2 separate regions of the Homo sapiens genome follow, and region 2 is linked to region 1. Evidence: promoter capture Hi-C in human tissues and cell types (Jung and others, 2019). All regions are on one chromosome and are shown on one strand. Each heading gives the region's core, a stretch centred on a gene start or on the middle of the fragment in contact. The rest is flanking DNA. Distances are from core to core; before and after follow the strand shown.

Region 1 (2,781 bases), core at 206-2,705:
ATGCACATCCTGGATGACTTGTAATACCTACTGCAATATCCTGTGTAGATGGTGGTCATGCTGTATTATTTAGAGAATCATGACAGGAATCTGTACGTGTTCAGTCGTGGTTGGTTAAATCTGCAGATGCAGAGCTCACGGAGGAGGCTGGCCATGCATGGCACACATTCATAGGTTCTCTTTAAGTAGCCTTGCTGTGCTTCTGTTAGGAAGTTTTATTTATACGTTTTTGGGAAGAATCTTGTATGGGGAAGTCATGTCTCAATTGTTAACACCAGATTTGTCTCGTGCTGTTTAATCCTGCTTTGTAATGAGCTCAAGCACAGGCGCTTGACCAGGTGAGTGGTTTCTTTTCTTTTCTTTTTTTTTTTTTTTGAGACAGAGTCTTGCACTGTCGCCCAGGCTGGGGTGCAGTGGTGCGATCTTGGCTCACTGCAACCTCTGCCTCCCGGGTTGACGCGATTCTCCTGCCTCAGCCTCCCGAGTAGCTGGGATTACAGATGCGCGGTACCATGCCCGGCTAATTTTTTGTATTTTTAGCAGAGGGGTTTCACTATGTTGGCTAGGCTGGCCTTGAACCCCTTACCTCAGGTGATCCACCCGCCTCGGCCTCCCAAAGTGCTGGGATTACAGGTGTGAGCCACCAAGCCTGGCCGTTTTTTTGAGATCAATTAATTTATGGCAGGCTGGGCGCGGTGGCTTACACCTGTAATCCCAGCACTTTGGGAGGCCGAGGTGGGTCGATCACTTGAGGTCGGGAGTTCAAGACCAGCCTGGCCAACATAGTGAAACCCCGTCTCTGCTAAAAATACAAAAAATTAGCCGGGCATGGTACCACGCATCTGTAATCCCAGCTACTCGGGAGGCTGAGGCAGGAGAATCATGTCAACCCGGGAGGCAGAGGTTGCAGTGAGCCGAGATCGTGCCATTGCACTACAGCCTGGGCGACAGAGCAAGACTCCCTCTCAAAAGTAAAAAAAAAATTATGGCAGCACAGAAAAGGGACAATTAGCCACCAGTTAGTCATCTAGTGGCTAATTGGAACTGCCTGAATAGTGAGTGGGTTGTCTTTTCCAAGTTGCTTCACCTTTGATTGAACAAAATATGTGGACTGTCTGAGGGGACCAGGGCCCCAGGACTGCATCCCTTAGACATGGGGCCATAGACATGGGGCCACCACTCTGGAATGGACGCAGCTGATGACACAAAGCATGGTTGCCAGGAAACCCTCAAGTCTTTCCTTATGTGGCCCCGCCAAGAGTGAGTGAATCCTGGCCTTTCTAGGTTAAGGGGATGGATGGAGTCTAGCTGGATCTTAGGAGGCCTCCTCAGCCCGTTGCCAAGGCTCCCCTTGTGATCCTTGTGGTGGCCTTTACTTCCCCCCGCCCCCGTGGCTCGCAGGGAGGCGTGTTGTTACGTGGAATCTTCAGGGCACGCGGGGGCCCCCACGTTTCAAACGTCCGCCGGCGCGGGGACTGGGAGTCCAGGGCTCCAGCTCGGGGACCCGAGGCCAGCGACAGACAGCGGAGGGGTGGCCATCGCGGACCCCGCCGGGGAGCGGAGGCGCAGATTCCCTGGAGGCAGGAGCTCTGTCCAGTGACTCGGCCGGACCCGGGGCAGGGGCGCCCCGAGGACCTCGCAGGGCCCCCGAAAGGCCCCAAGGCGCGGCGTGCAGTGAGCGGGAAGTGGTTGGCCGGCGCCCCGCGGCGGCGCACAGCTCCTGACAGCCACGATGCCGCCCGCGACCACGGTCTCCCTCCGGGAGCTGGCGGACCTCTCCATCGGCACGCCAGAGGTGGGCGCCGTCAACTTCACGGCCCTGCACACGCTCATCGTGGCCATGCTCAAGAACCTCGACCTCCAAAATACCCGGATCGACTTCCAGCCCTCGTCGCCCGAGCCCAGCCGCTCGCTGCAGTCCGTCCGGAGCTCGTTCAGCATCCCGCACCTGCCCGCGCCCAAGGAGGTGCCCAAGGGGGCGCCCCGGGAGAAGCGCAGGGGCGTGGGCCAGGCGCCTTCGTCAGCGCTGGAGAGCCAAGTGAAGGACCTGGGCGGCCAGGTGGAGGACCTGAGCAAGCAGCTCAAGCGTGTGGACGGCCAGGTGCAGGGCATCGCCACGCACGTGCAGCACTTCTCCCAGGCCAGCGGGCTTGACCTGGCCGCGCTAGAGTGGCCGGAGGAGCAGGAGGTGGGCGTGCGGGCGTTCGATAGGGTGCGGACTGGGAGTATCATGAAGGACGCCGCCGAGGAGCTCAGCTTTGCCAGGGTGAGCACGCACACGGAGGCACGCGCAGGCCGTCTGCCTCCTCCAGGCCGCCCTCCAGGCCTAGCCGAGTCCCCACCACCCTGGAGGGGTGAGCGGTGGTGGGGACGGAGGGGATGGGGACCGAGGAGGTGCCAGACCTCAGTGCGACTGGCTAAATAGAGTGGCCCATGCTCTACCTTGCAGTCCACGGGGCTGCAAGACGTGAAAATCCTAAAAGAACGCCACCAAAAGGCCTAGGGCCTCCCCGAGCTGGAGGGGCCTGGGGACCCCACCTCCTAAGTGTAGTGGCCCCATCCCACCCCCTCCTTCCTAGCCCCTGTTTACGGGAGAGGTTCGCCCACCACTTATCAGACATCCAAGGACCCAGAGCTGGCTCAGAGTGGGGCCGGCAACTTCTCAGAAGATTCTTAGAGTGAATTCCCTTTTTAAAATGAATAAGGACATGAAGAGATACGTGTTGAGGACAAAGGCTCCCAGAGAAGGGGAGTCAGGATGGAGAGTTGGACCTCAGCTTC
Region 2 (2,781 bases), core at 163-2,662, 220 kb after region 1:
CACCAGGGAGAGGGGAGGAAGGAGGGCCCAGGCCCAGGCCCAGGGCCAGGCAGAGTACTGGTGGAAGGGACTCAGCCTGGCCCAGAGCCGCTCGCACCTTTGTGAGCAGTCCTGGGTGGCAGGATGGACAGTGACATGTTTAGTGTCTCTAGCAGACAGGGCCTTTCCTGGCAGGCTAGAGTGAAAATGAAGTTTCCAGCCGCGCTCTTCACTGGGCGGATCCCAGCCCTGGGCTGGCCCTGGGCACTCAGAGGGGTCGCTGTGGGAGGCCGTCGGCCGGGCCTGCCACTTGCCCTTCTGCACCGTTTTCTTCCCACCCAGGCCATCCTCTTCCTGCAGCAGCTTTTGGACTTCCAGGAGACGGCAGGCGCCATGCTGGCCTCCCAAGGTACTGGTACCTCCCAGTTGGGCCCCCTGCCCCACTCGCCTCCTTGCCTGGAGACATGGGGTTAGAGGGCAGGTAGCAGTGAGGAGGTATCTCCAGTCTGTGGAGGGGTTGAGGTGTGCTCAGCAGAGGGTCCCTGGGGCTGAGCATCAGGAGAGCAAGGTTTGCCTGCACCTTTCAAGACCAGACACTGGACCTCTGGCCCCTCCCTCAGCCCCTTTGACCGTCCTCGCCCTGGAAGCAGTGTCCTCACTCTGGGAGCGGTGCTGGTTGGTTGGAAGGTGTCCTTTCTGCCCCTGCCCCCCTCCCAAATCCTTCTCTCGTGTCTGCCTGCTCTCCTAATCAGGCTCGCTCAGCTGGCCTTCAGAGGGTAGCAAGTGTCTCAGGGCCCGCTGGGCGTCTTCCTGCTGGCCCTGCCCTGGGACTGGAGCTCAGGGGGTTGGCCTGTAAGCAAGAGCACCTTTCTGGGTCATTCCAAGCACTGAGGTCCCTGGGCCCTCTCCTCCCGTCCCATTTTGGGGGCAAGGAGCCTGTGGGCAGCCTCCAGCCTGCAGTTCTCAGCTCTCTACTTTCCAGGGTGTTCCCTGGTCCTCAGAGGGTCCCGCCTGCTGTGTCTTGCTATCTGTGTTTTGGCTGTCGTGGGGAGAGGTCTGCTTAATTCGGGTTGACATGCCGTTTCTAACCTGTTTTTTGCACTTTGCATCTTTCTCCCTCCTTTGTCTCTCCCTCTGTCCCCTCTGTGTGCACTGCCTTTCACTCCGTAGTTCTTGGGGACACATACAATATTCCTTTAGACCCCCGAGGTAAGCAGTGCGGTTCTGCAGCCCCCTCCTGTCCCTCTGAAGCTTGGTGGGTGAGGTTCCCTGGGGACTGACTCTCAGTACCTACTGGGGAGCCTGAGTCAGAGGGGACATGAGTTTTCTCGGGGTGCTCTCAACTCTCTCTGCTCCCTTCAAGGCCACTCTGTCTCTGAGCTTATCCGCAGCACCTGCCCAGGCTAGAGCCCTGGATACACCCCCTAGGCTCGCCCGGCCTCCCTGCCTTGCTGTCCCCACTCGGCCTTCCCCACTGTGCAGGCCGCAGCTTCGTCTGTTCAGTAGGGTCTGGTAGAGGGGATGTTCGAATGTAGGGGAGAAGGTGGAGAGGCTGTGGGGAGCCCATTCTAAGACTCTGCTGTTGACAAAAGGAAAAAGGGGGCCTTGTAGAAACCACCCAGGGTGGGTGGGGGCAGGAGGGGACAGGGCGCTGGCATCTCACTCTTTTCCTGCCAGCTTTTCTGCTGACATGGGCCAGCTCCATCCCATCATAGAGGGCAGCTCTGGGTTCCAAAAACTCCAGGGCTGGTGCTTCCTGCGGCAGGGGCCACCCTGTGGCTTAGCAGGCAGCCAGCTCTGCCCAAGGAAGCCCAGGGCCTGTCTCAGTGTCCCCTCAGACTGCTGCATGGCCTGGGGGAAGGGCCGTTGAGGGTCTTGGCTGCTGCCACTGCAATAACAGGACTTCTCCTCTCACAGAGACCAGCTCTTCGGCCACCAGCTACAGCTCTGAGTTCAGCAAGCGGCTGCTAAGCACCTATATCTGTGAGTGTTCTCCCGGGCAGACCAGCAGCCCTGCTGCCTGCATGCCCTGCCTTTCCCTTCCTTCTGTCTGTGCTCTCTGGCTATTCCCAGGGCCCTCTCCTAAGTGCCATCTGATCTTTGGAACCACAACCTGACCTCTAGTTCAGAGGCTGAGGGGAGTTGGGCTAAGGCCTCCTGAGGCAGGACGAGGAGCGATGGATAGGAGCGCGTTCGCGGGTCCTGGGGTGGGGTCGTTTGGGTCAGACTGCCATGGTGGGTGTGGCCCCATTTTTCCCTGTGCAGGTAAAGTGCTGGGCAACCTGCAGTTGAACTTGCTGAGCAAGTCCAAGGTGTACGAGGACCCAGCTCTGAGCGCCATCTTCCTGCACAACAACTACAATTACATCCTCAAGTCCCTGGAGAAGTAAGTGGCCTGCGGGAGTGAGTCTGCGGCTCTCACCTTCCCCTCGGCTGTGCAGCTGTGCCAGCCCCTGCCCCCCTGGGCTCCTTCTCTTGTGGACGAGAGGGGAGGGGGTGCTTCAGTCTCCTCCACCCCAGGACCCGGAAGGTGGGATGCCATAGAGCTTGTGGAGTTTGGGGTGCAATGGGAGGCCCTCCCGGCATTGCCGCAGCCTTTGGGCCTGAGGAGCCAATCCTGTCCTCCTCTCCTCTGTCCCCTACCCCGACCCAGGTCTGAACTGATCCAGCTGGTGGCAGTGACACAGAAGACTGCTGAGCGCTCCTACCGGGAGCACATTGAGCAGCAGATCCAGACCTACCAGCGCAGGTGAGAGGCTGGGCCCGCCCTGCTCCTGCATGGGCCCCTGTGCCACCACGCAC

The links. The method cuts DNA at HindIII sites, captures the fragments that hold promoters and counts their contacts. A contact is called where the count stands out against the background at its distance.
Region 2: a contact is called between a fragment that was not itself captured here and the fragment with the promoter of QRICH2 in region 1, in 1 of the 25 tissues and cell types used here (lymphoblastoid cells).

What each region holds. Positions count from the first base shown.
Region 1 is chr17:76,306,950-76,309,730 of GRCh38, reverse strand. QRICH2 (glutamine rich 2) reads left to right here and starts at 1,455. Exons shown (of 19, transcript NM_001388453.1): 1 at 1,455-2,266. The coding sequence starts at 1,733. It overlaps PRPSAP1 (phosphoribosyl pyrophosphate synthetase associated protein 1), which reads left to right. Exons shown (of 10, transcript NM_002766.3): 10 at 1-253. The HindIII fragment of the contact is 11,814 bases long and covers 1-2,781 here.
Region 2 is chr17:76,085,261-76,088,041 of GRCh38, reverse strand. EXOC7 (exocyst complex component 7) reads left to right here. Exons shown (of 19, transcript NM_001013839.4): 12 at 322-388; 13 at 1,897-1,962; 14 at 2,245-2,365; 15 at 2,633-2,728. Among named protein-coding and RNA genes, the nearest start is that of ZACN, 7.5 kb to the right of the region's middle. The HindIII fragment of the contact is 7,063 bases long and covers 1-2,781 here.